Regions from separate parts of the Homo sapiens genome. Here all the other regions are linked to region 3. The links are contacts of gene promoters, found by promoter capture Hi-C in human tissues and cell types (Jung and others, 2019). All regions are on one chromosome and are shown on one strand. The core of a region is centred on a gene start or on the middle of the fragment in contact, and the rest is flanking DNA. Distances in the headings are between cores, read along the strand shown. Region 1 holds the start of ZNF814 (zinc finger protein 814). Region 2 holds the start of ZSCAN4 (zinc finger and SCAN domain containing 4). Region 3 holds the start of ZIM3 (zinc finger imprinted 3).

What was found. The method cuts DNA at HindIII sites, captures the fragments that hold promoters and counts their contacts. A contact is called where the count stands out against the background at its distance.
Region 1: the fragment with the promoter of ZNF814 here is called in contact with the fragment with the promoter of ZIM3 in region 3 in 2 of the 25 tissues and cell types used here (adrenal gland and stomach).
Region 2: the fragment with the promoter of ZSCAN4 here is called in contact with the fragment with the promoter of ZIM3 in region 3 in 1 of the 25 tissues and cell types used here (hippocampus).

What each region holds. Positions count from the first base shown.
Region 1 is chr19:57,886,569-57,890,700 of GRCh38, forward strand. It overlaps ZNF814 (zinc finger protein 814), which reads right to left and starts at 2,469. Exons shown (of 3, transcript NM_001144989.2): 1 at 2,199-2,469. The coding sequence starts at 2,234. RefSeq lists enhancers at 613-1,345, 1,370-1,913, 1,914-2,456, 2,130-2,179. The HindIII fragment of the contact is 24,676 bases long and covers 1-4,132 here.
Region 2 is chr19:57,666,552-57,670,674 of GRCh38, forward strand. It overlaps ZSCAN4 (zinc finger and SCAN domain containing 4), which reads left to right and starts at 2,384. Exons shown (of 5, transcript NM_152677.4): 1 at 2,384-2,652; 2 at 3,694-4,016. The HindIII fragment of the contact is 8,369 bases long and covers 1-4,123 here.
Region 3 is chr19:57,142,848-57,146,451 of GRCh38, forward strand. It overlaps ZIM3 (zinc finger imprinted 3), which reads right to left and starts at 2,355. Exons shown (of 5, transcript NM_052882.1): 1 at 2,012-2,355. The HindIII fragment of the contact is 26,155 bases long and covers 806-3,604 here.

The DNA.
Region 1 (4,132 bases), core at 1,219-3,718, 740 kb after region 3:
CTTTGTTTAATAAACAAAAAAAAAAGACGGCCAGGCACGGTGGTTCACGCCTATAATCCCAGCACTTTCGGAGGCCGAGGCGAGCGGATTGCCTGAGCTTGGGAGTTCAAAAGCAGCCTAGGCAACATGGCGAAACCCCATCTCTACTAAAAATACAAAAAATTAGCCAGGTGTGGTGGCGGGTGCCTGTAATCCCAGCTACTCGGGAGGCTGAAACAAGAGAATCTCTTGAACCCGGGAGGCGGAGGTTGCAGTGAGCTGAGATCACACCACTGCACTCCAGGCTGGGTGACAGACTGAGACGCTGTCTCAGTAAAATAAATAAATAAATAAAATAGGCTGAGTGTGGTGGCTTATGCCTGTAATCCTAGCAAGTTGGGAGGCTGAGGCGGGCGGATCAGTTGAAGTCGGGAGTTTGAGACCAGCCTGACCAACATGGAGAAACCCCGTCTCTACTAAACATACAAAAAATTAGCCGGGTGTGGTGGCGCATGCCTGTAATCCCAGCTACTGGGAGGCTGAGGCAGGAGAATCGCTTGAACCCGGGAGGCAGAGATTGCAGTGAGCCGAGATCACACCATTGTACTCCTGCCTGGGCAACAAGAGCGAAACTCCGTCTCAAGAAAACAAAACAAAATAAAAAATAAAGACTACATCTAACCAGGTAAGGTCACAAACAAGGAAACTCTTCCACTATCAGTTCTCACCAGAGTATTCTGTAACTGTAAAAGATTAGGCCTTCAGCAGCTCAAAACTCAGCATCTGCTGCCTAAGGCTCTGCCACCTCAAAGACTCTTCCTTGTAAGACTGCAGGCCAATTGCCCACCAACTGGCCCAGACCAAGATGCCTTTTGTCTTCCTTGCTCCCTCTAAACTGGTTCCATAACGTTTGCTCCTATATCTTTTTCCTCTTGATGCTAAGCATTATTTTGTTCCTTGTGTTGTAATGCCCAACCTTGTTTTCACTAATCCTGTTTTTAGACTCTCCCTTTTGCTCTCTTAATCACCTAGCCTCGTTTCCACATGAATAGACTCTCGCTTAGCTGAGAAAGCCAGACGAGCTCCACCTGGCCCCCTTGATTTACAAGACATTAAGGACTCCTTACCCACCCCCCTTTCCTCAAGGAGTTAACTTGTGTAAGCAGATTCTCAACATATCAAAGGAGTCCAATTAACTGATAAGGGACTGGGAACAAACCATGTATGAAGTTCCCAGGATTTTGCTCAAAAGATAACACCATAAAGCCTTGAGTTTGTGTCTGGCGTAGTGCCCATATCTAACTCTTATGAAGGATTTAGAGCGCCACACCTGGTACCTTGCCTTTTTGTAACCATTTGTCTTTTAAATTGTTTGTTTCTCTGTAACCATTTATCCTTTTAATTTTTTGCATGTTTTTACTTCTGAAGAGTTGTTGCATTTAAGCTCCCCTCCCCTTCCTAAACCAAAGTATAAAAGTTAATCAAGCCCCTTCCTCGGGGCCGAGAGAATTTTGAGCGTTAGCCGTCTCTTTGGCCGCCAGCTGAATAAAGGACTCTTAATTCGTCTCAAAGTGTGGCGTTTTTCTAACTCGCCCGGGTACAACAGTGTTATGTTTAACCTTTAACATTTACATGTTAAGTATACTATTGTGTATTGTTTGCTATATTGACTGACTTGGGGAGTGTCTTCAGCCTCTGTGCCCATGGCCAACTACCAAGTGAACTGGAATCACAAGAGAATTGCCTCCTTCGAACTCCATTTAGCTCATGGCTTTTGTTGACTCAAATATCACCTGACACTGTGCAAAGACACAAACATGCATGGACCTGATTATCTCTACCCTTACAATGCTCATGACATCCCTCCTTTCTTCGAAAATCTCCATGCCTTCTAGGGTCCTCACGTGAGTTCATAGCCCCCAGCCTGCTTGCTCTTCCAGGAGGAGCTCCGCCTCATAATTTGCTCCCAACAGGCACCTGTGGACCCCAGATTCCATCCTTCTGGCTCAGTTCACTTCCAGGCCTTTGCCCGCGCCAGTCCCTGTACCTGCCGGTCTCCCCACCGCATCCCACGGGTGTCAGAAATGGGGCCCCTCCCGCAAGCGCCTCAGTGTCCCAACGCCGGCGTCCGGGCTGCAGAGCCGTGAACAGGCGCTGCTACCTCGCTGCTTTTGGGTGACGATGAGGTGACCTGAGGACACAGAAGGCCCCACAATTACCTGAGCGGAGAGCCTCAGCGTAGCCGCGGCAGCCATCGAACCACGTGGTTTTAAGCAGAGTCGGGAGGATAGGGCGACCAGCCAGGAGATATGGGCACGACGGTCCGTATCCTGGCCCAGGAGTGGGTCACGCTGGGCGCCGTCACAGAGCTCCAGAGTAGCCTCTGTGCAGCGGAGGACAACTGCTCCCCGACTTCTGGGTTCAGTCACCACAGTGCGGACCTAGCGCTCAGGAGCCTCTCCTACAAATAAATCCAACACCAATCAAAATGGCCGCCACCAGAGGGCGCCGGAAGTCCGGACCCATTGTCACGTGCACACAGGAAACGCCTTTATTCTGAGCCCTCAGAGGTCTTCTACGCTATCATTCGAGGCTGAGTTTTCTGGGTAATGTAGTTCCCTAGGCAACAAGGAGGGTAAAGGGCGCAATTCCCAGAGGCGCTTCTGCAGGAAAAGCCCAGCTTCACCTCGGGAGTATCCTTAAGATGTGCGTCCTGACTGGTATGGTGGCTCCCGCCTGTAATTCCACCAGTTTGGGAGGCCAAGTCACAAGGATCATTTGAGGTCAGGAGTTAGAAATTAGCCTGAGCAACAAAGCAAAATCCTGTCTCTACAAAAAATAAAAAATATTAGCGGAGTGTGGTCGGGCGGGCCTGTGGTCCCAGCTGCCCTAAGGTTGGGGTTAGGGTTAGGGAGCCTGAGGAGGGAGAATCGCTTGAGCTCAGGAGTTCGAAGCTGCTGTAAGCCGAGATCGTACCACTGCATTCCAGCCTGGGCAACAGAACGAGACCTCTTATCTAAAAAATAAAAATAAGGGCCAGGTGCGGGCGGCTCACGCCCGTAATCCCAGCACTTTGGGAGGCCGAGGCAGGTGGAACACCTGAGGTCAGGAGTTCAAGACTGGCCTGGCCAACATGGTGAAACCCCGCCTCTACTAAAAATACAAAAATTAACCCACATGGTGACATGCGCCTGTAATCCCAGCTACTGGGGAGGCCGAGGCAGGAGAATCTCTTGTACATGGGAGTCAGAGGTTGCGGTGAGTGAGATCCTGCCACTGCACTCCAGCCTGGGTGACACAGCAAGACTCCATGTTGGAAAAAAAAATAAAAATAAAAATAAAAAAATAAATAAAAGATTGCAGATCTTTCTCCTAGGCAGAGGATCATCCTGCCTCTCCTTAGAACTCACATTGAGATTTCTTGGGGTTATTGGCTGTAACTGATTACCCTAGTGTATGGAAAAATATTATTTCAGAGTTAGTGTAGATGTTCCCAAAGGCTACAGATCCAAATTCACCTATCATTTCAGATGGTCCTTCAGATGCAAAATTCTTCCACTGGAAGCAAAGATTAATGCAAAGATTAATAACCATTATTGTATTGTTAAAATGAACGTGTAAACACCCAGAGGGTTCATTTTTCCTACTGCCCAGATAAAGCCAATTTATCAGGACAGGGAAATTGCAAAAGAAAAAGAGTTTTATTCACACAGAGTTGGATGAACAGCATACTGGAGTCTTACTAGTATTACTCAAATCAGTCTCCCTGAAAATTGCGAGACTGGGGTTTTTTGTTGTTGTTGTTGTTTATTTGTTTGTTTGTTTTCTGAGACAGAATTTTGCTCCTGTTGCCCAGGCTGAAGTGCAATGTCACGATCTCAGCTCACTGCAACCTCCGCCTCCTGAGACTGGGGTTTTTTAAGGATAATTTGGTAGATAGGGGGCCATGAATTGGGGAATGCTGATTGGTTGGGTTGGAGATGAAATCATAGGGAGTCAAAGTTGTTCTCTTGTGCTGAGTGGGTTCTGGGGGAGAGGGAGGCACAAGACCAGATAAGCCAGTTTACCCATCTGAGTGGTGCCATCAGATCCATCAAGTTCAGGGTCTGAAAAATATCTCCAGCACCAATCTTAGCTTTTGCAATGGTGATAC
Region 2 (4,123 bases), core at 1,134-3,633, 520 kb after region 3:
AAATTGACTAAATATTTTTTCTCAAAAAAAAAAAAAAAAGAAAAGAAAGTCACCAGGTGTGGTGGCTCACGCCTGTAATCCCAGCACCTGGGGAGGCTGAGGTGGGCGGATCACCTGAGATCAGGAGTTTGAGACTATCCTGGCCAACATGGTGAAACCCCGTCTCTACTAAAATACAAAAATTAGCCGGGTGTGGTGGCGCATGCCTTTAATCACAGCTACTCTGGGTGCGGAAGTTGCAGTGAGCCAAGATCGTGCCACTGCACTCCAGCCTGGGCGACAGAGCAAGACTTTGTCTCGAAAAAAATAGAAAGTTAACAGTTTTGTTTATTTTCCTACCAGGTTTTTATTATTATTATTATTATTCTAATTGAAATCACTGTTTCCTACATACTGAGGCGGATTGGCTTTGTCTTCTTGGAAACAAAGGTTATTTTCCTCACTCACACTGGAGCGGGGATACTCACCAGACACAAGTTGAGATGATGCTGGATGTAAACGGGTCATCTATTTTTACCAAAGGCAGCACTACCTGCCTTCCCAATTGATCAGAAAAGCATTTGATAGTTGTCTTTGTAATATCCTTATTTGATTAAATTACTATGTGGATTTCACATTTATTTTTATTGTTTTGTGCCTGTTTATTCTATGCCTAAGTTGGGGTATCACCAGGTCATTTCCTCCACCATCTGTGTTTCCCCAAGGATAAATCCTCCTGCTCATGCCCTTCACTCCTCCATTAGCCCATTCCCTAGAAAGCTGCTGGTTTTACACAGTGGCTGTGTGTCTTTGCCTTCTTAATGTAGCATTCAGAGTCCCACTCTGGAGCCAGGTATCAAATCCTAGCCCAGCCACTTACAGGCTATGTAGCACTGGCCAAGGTACTGAACTTCTCTGTGCCTCTGTTATTTTGATGTTAAAATGGAGTTATTTAGGATCTACTTTACAGGACTGTTGTGATGGAAATGGGTTAACATACAGAAAGCACTGAGAACAGAGTCAAATATGCCCTGACTGCTTAAAGGTTAGTTATTATGATCCCTGATGCTATTACTACTCTTACTGATATCATCGTGCCTCAGGTCTAACTGCTCCCAGAGTTACACACCAGCATGTCCAACAGCTGGCTGTATATCTGAACTCAAAAATCCAATAACCTCCTCCAAACAGAAATTGCCAGCTTTTCCCCAAACCTTTTCCTTACAGCTCCTTACAGAGCTCAAGGAACTCCTTGAGACTGCAGAAGCAGACAGGAAATGCTTTCAACCCACCACAAATTAACAACTGGCCTCCAGTGGTACTCACATTGTCTACATTTTTCATTGTTTTTTTTTTGTTTGTTTTTTGTTTGTTTGTTTGTTTGTTTTTGAGACAGAGTCTCACTCTGTCGCCCAGGCTGGAGAGCAGTGGTGCGATCTTGGCTCACTGCAACCTCGGCCTCCCAGGTTCAAGTGATTCTCCTGCCTCAGGCTCCCGAGTACTTGGGATTACAGGTGCCTGCCACCATGCCTGGCTAATTTTTGTATTTTTTTAGTAGAGACGAGGTTTCATCATGTTGGCCAGGCTGGTCTCAAACTCCTGACCTCAGGTGATCCACCCGCCTCGGCCTCCCAAAGTGCTGGGATTACAGGCATGAGCCACTGCGCCCAGCCCATTTTTCATTGTTGTAGCAGAGAAGTATCCCTGCTTCCATCAAGAGCCAATTTTCCTGTCACAGTTGGTTTAATGACATAGTTGGTGACAGGACCTAAACCACCAGTGGAAAATTGGCTCTTGATGGGAGCAGGGATACTTCTCTGTATGGAGTATATGTGGATGAAACTCCTTGGAGAAATGGACTAGTACACAGTCTTATAATGTGAGGATTCAGAACATAATTCCTAATGTGGGGAAGTCAAGCAGACATTTCATCAGTGGAGTACCAGGAGATTCAAACTCTGTACCCAACAGTGATAGGGGGACAATCTAAGCCCCAAGAGGCTGCATGCCTGATGGAGCAGATGAAACACATGGCTGTAATTAGCTCCCACCCCTTCGATACGTTCTCAACTCCACCAAAGCCTCAGCCTGTATGAGGGTGGAAAGTGGGGAGGGAGAGTGCAGGGAAGAAGGCACAGCTTCCACCACACTAGGTGACCAGGCGCTTCTCACCATTTTAACTCCTCCATCTCTCTCAAGCCTCATGTTAAGTCTATCAAACATCATATGCTTTCTCAATATAAAATATGCACCAATTTCTCCCTTTCCACTGATATAATCCTAGTCTCAACCCCTGTCATCTTTTTGATGGATTAGGAATGCCTTCTCTGGGTCCCGGGCCCCCTCTGTTTCACCAGCCTGGAATTGGCACAGGAGTCACAGCATTAGCCTTGCCCTCTGCCACCCTTGTAATTCATAAATCTCTGAAAACTTAAAAGTTTGAGCAAAAGTTTGTCATGTTTCTATGAGTAATTTATAATAAAACTTGATCAGAATTTGTGAGACTAACGTTTGTCTTTATATTTTCCTTTTTTTTTTTTTTTTTTTTGAGACACAGTCTCGCTCTGTCGTCCAGGCTGGAGTGCCGTGGCGTAATCTCGGCTCACTGCAACCTCTGCCTCCTGGATTCAAACAATTCTTCTGCCTCAGCCTCCTGAGTAGCTGGGATTACAGGTGCATGCTACCACGCCCAGATAATTTTTGTATTTTTAATAGAAACCGGGTTTAACCATGTTGGTCAGGCTGGTCTCAAACTCCTGACCTCATGATCCACCTGCCTCGGCCTCCCAAAGTGCTGGGATTACAGGCGCGAGCCACCACACCCAGCCTGTCTTTATATTTTCATTTAATGTGGACCTTGTTACATTTTACCGCAGATTTTGTATTTTTGTGTGTGTTTGTTTGTTTGTTGGTTTTTGAGACAGTCTACCTCTGTCGCCCAGGCTGCAGTGCAGTGGCACAATTTCAGCTCACTGCAACCTCCGCCTCTGTGGTTCAAACAATTCTTCTGCTCAGCCTCCTGAATAGCTGGGACTACAGGCACGCGCCACTACGCCTGGCTAATTTTTGCATTTTTAGTAGAGATGGGGTTTCACCATATTGGCCAGGCTGGTCTCGAACTCTTGACCTCGTGATCCGCCCACCTCGGCCTCCAAAAGTGCTGGGATTACAGGCATGGTTTTTTTTTTGTTCGTTTTGTTTTGTTTTTTTTTTAGAGACTTGGTCTCCTTCCATTTCCCAGGCCAGAGTTCAGTAGGGCGGTCATAATCCACTGTAGCCATGAACTCCCTGGCTCAAACAAGCTACACAGACATGCCACCATGCCTGGCTAACATTTTTAACATTATTTTTGGTAGAGACAGGGTCTTGCTTTGTTGCTCAGGCTAGGGATTCACAGAGTCTTGCTCTGTCTCCCAGGCTGGAATGCAGTGGCGCAATCTTGGCTCACTCTAGCCTCTGCCTCCCAGGTTCAAGTAATTCTCCTGCCTCAGCCTCCCAAGTAGCTGGGATTACAGGTGCCCACCACCATGCCCGGCTAATTTTTGTATTTTTAGTAGAGAAAGGGTTTCACCATGTTGGCCAGGCTGGTCTTGAACTCCTGATCTCAGGTGATCTGCCTGCCTCAGCCTCCCAAAGTGCTGAGATTACAGGTGTGAGCCACTGCACCTAGCCTGCAGAAATATTAATGTGTTTGTTTATGACCTGTTGACCCAGGACCAGTGATGGTATAGAACACTGTATTAGAGACATGGAGCTGGGGCTGGATGAAGATTCCATCAGTAATTCAATCAACAGACAAGTGTTATCCAATCACGTCTTTAAATCAATCACTGACATGGAGCTGGGGCTGGATGAAGATTCCATCAGTAATTCAATCAACAGACAAGTGTTATCCAATCACGTCTTTAAATCAATCACTGATCCCAGCCCCTATAAAAGGGAGCAGCCTTAGGAGGCACATCAGATAAACCCAGTGTGGAAAGCTAGTCACACATCAGCTCAGTGTTCGGCCCGGGATTACCCAGTCAACCAAGGAGGTAAGCTTCCATAATGGAAGGAAAATTTTGTGCCTTTGAGTGTGTATACATTTTGTGTCTTTGAGTGTGTATACATAATTTTGTGTCTTTGAGTGTGTATACATGTG
Region 3 (3,604 bases), core at 1,105-3,604:
TTTTTGTTTTGGTTTTTTTGTGTTTGTTTATTTATTGAGACTGGGTCTCAAAGAAGAAAGTGCAAGCCAGGCACGGTGGCTCACGCCTGTAATCCCAGCACTTTGGGAGGCTGAAGCAGGCAGATCACCAGAGGTCAGGAGTTCGAGACCAGCCTGTCCAACATGGTGAAACCCCGTCTCTACTAAAAATACAAAATTGGCTGGGCGCGGTGACTCATGCCTGTAATGCCAGCACTTTGGGAGGCCGAGGCAGGCGGATCACGAGGTCAGGAGATCAAGACCATCCTGGCCAACACGGTGAAACCCTGTCTCTACTAAAAATACAAAAACAAAATTAGCCAGGCGTGGTGGCGGGCGCCTGTAGTCCCAGCTACTCGGGAGGCTGAGGCAGGAGAATGGCGGGAACCCGGGAGGCGGAGCTTGCAGTGAGCCGAGATCGCGCCACCGCACTCCAGCCTGGGCGACAGAGCGAGACTCCGTCCCAAAAAAAAAAAAAAAGAGAGAGAGAGAAAGCTAAACAGCAGTTCAACAGCACCTTTAAAACAAGCCTGTGCAAAGACAATGAGGCAAGCATCAGATCAGCTAGAGCACAGTAAGGAAGGCCGAGAGCAGAAACCATGAATCCTGAAGCAGCTGTGGTCGTGACGAATAACGCCGCAGTGAACATGGGATGCAGATAGCCCTTCAGCTTTGCCATAAGCGGGACAGCTGGATCATTGGTAATTCTTTGCCAAAAGCGTAGATTTTGGCCACGCGTGGCAGCTCACACCTATAATCCCAGCACTTTGGAAAGCCAAGGTGGGAGGATCAGTTGAGCCCAGGAGTTACTTTTTTTTTTTTTTTTTTAAGACCAAGTCTTGCTCTGTCGCCCAGGCTGGAGTGCAGTGGCACAGTCTCGGCTCACTGCAACCTCTGCCTCCCGGGTTCAAGGGATTCCCCTGCCTCAGCCTCCCGTGTAGCTGGGATTACAGGCATGCACCACCATGCCCAGCTAATTTTTGCATTTTTAGTAGAGACAAGGTTTTACCATGTTGTTCAGGCTGGTCTCGAGCTGCTGATCTCAAGTGATCCGCCGGCCTCAGCCTCCCAAAGTGCTGGGATTATAGGCGTGAACCACCACATCCAGCCAAGCCCAGGAGTTTGAGACCAGCCTGTGCAACATAGTGAAACCTCTGTCTCAATGTTTAAGTAATAAAGTTTTTATTTTTTATTTTATTTTATTGAGGCAGGGTCTCATTCTGTCACCCAGGCTGGAGTGCAGTGATGTGATCCCGGCTCACAGCAGTTTAAAAATCCCTGGCTCAAGCAATCCTCCTACCTTGGCCTCCTGAATAGTTAAGACTATGGGTGCATGCTACCACATCAGCTAACTTTTTATTTTTTGTAAAGAAGGGATCTTGCTATGTCACCTAAACTGGTCTCAAACTCCTAGGCTCAAGCAATCCTCCTCCCTCAGCCTCCCCAAATCCTGGGATTACATGCATGAGCCACCACACCAGCCAGGAATAAAGTTTTAAATAAGTAAATATGTTTTTAAAAAGAATAAACTTGCCGGGCACAACTTTAATGTTTATTAAAGTTTGAGGAGTCCAATTCTAGCACAAAAAATATATATAATTTTAAAAAACAGTAAATTGTAAATGCTTTCACCACAAAAATAGATTAATTAGCTTGATTTAATCATCCCCCCAATGTAAACATGTATCAAAACATCACATTGTACCCCATAAATAAACACAATTATTATTTGTCAATAAAAAGTTTTTAGAAGTAGCTGTGGGCCAGCAGTAATGCTAAGGACTGGAGGGCCACGAAAATAATTTTGAGTGTCCTGGGAGCATCACTTTTCAATATGACAACTAAAAAAAAAATCTAAACTACCAATGTAAAATATTTAGCTTATTCCAGCAAATAGGAGAGGTAGAAAAATGAAACTAAGTAAAAATGCAAAACAAACAAACAAACAAAACCCAGACATTTGGTTTTCAGGGAGAAAAAAAAATCAGCTTACCTCCAGTGGAATCTGGCATAAATTAGCAAGTTGATTGATTTCTGATGCCTGTGGTCTTTTCTTCTGAAAGGGACTGAAAATGAAAAGGCGTGTATACTGAAAAGCTACACTAATGACTAAAACTTAATCGGCCCTCTACCCGCTGTATTCCGCATCATAATCCAGTCAAGAAACAACCCAAAACACTCACTTCCTATCAAAAGCCCCACCTGATCCTATCAGGCCACATCAAAATTTCAATTCCCAATTCTTTCCTCGACTTCTCCAAAACTGAATGAACTCTCATAAAAATTGTGATTGTGAAAGCTTAATTTTCAAATCTGCCCAATCAGTTTCCAATGGAATTTTTTTTAAGTTCATGCAAGTAAAAATTTTTTACCTTAACTTTGAAATAGAAAGCATGGAAAACATTATCCAAATGTCAGAGGATGAAAATAAATTAAAACAACAAAAATTGGCTGGGCACGGTGGCTCATGCCTGTAATCCCAGCACTTTGGGAGGACAGGAGTTCAAGACCAGCCTGGCCAACATGGGGAAACCCCGTCTCTACTAAAAATACAAAAATTAGCTGGTCATGGTGGCACGTGCCTGTAATCCCAGCTACTTGGGAGGCTGAGGCAGGAGAATCGCTTGAACCCGGGAGACGGAGGCTTCAGTGAGCCAAGATCGTGCCACTGCACTCCAGCCTGGGCAATGAGCGAGACTCCATCTCACGTCTCAAAAAAAAAAAAAGAAAGGAAAAGAAAAAAGAAATAGGGCCAGCGGAGGTGGAACAATGCCTTAAAGTGCTCTCCGCCCGACAGAAAGAATTCAGGCTCCAACCTCCAACTGGCAAAATCTCTTCAGCTGTACTAATACTCTCAAAATGAGATCAACATGCCAATCCATCCCCACCCTAGTCTGGGTGTTGAATTTAAACACAGGCTACATGCCCTTGCCTGCAGACATGGAGACCTTCCAAAATTGAGCGTCCAACTGAATTCCAAGAGATTAAACCAGACTTCATGGGACAGGATGCACCAGACTAGACCTCCTCCCAGGAGAAGAGGTATCCAAAGATCGTATTAGCAAATGACCCTTGGCGGTGTGCGGTGGCTCAAGCCTGTAATCCCAACACTTTGGGAGACTGAGGCAGACAGATCACCTGAGGTCAGGAGTTCAAGACCAGCCTGGTCAACATGGTGAAATCCTGTCTCTACTAAAAATACAAAAATTAGCTGGGCATGGTGGTACACACCTGTAGTCCCAGCTACTCAGCTACTCAAGAGGCTGAGGCAGAATTGCTTGAACCCAAAACACAGAGGTTGCTGTGAGCTGAGATCATGCCACTGCACTCCAGCCTGGGCGACAGAGGGAGACTCCATCTCAAAAAAAAAAAAAAGAAAAAAAAAGCAAAATGACCCAGCCAGCCTGAATCCCAGCCGCCGTGTCGGACTACTATAGTCCCAGATACTTGGAAGGCTGAGGTGGGAGGATCAATTGAGCCCAAGAGGTCAAGGCTGCAGTGAGCAAGGATCTTGCCACTGCATTCCAGCCTGAGAGACAGAGCAAGCCTGCAGGTGAACGGAAAGGGGTGGAGTGATTTTATATAT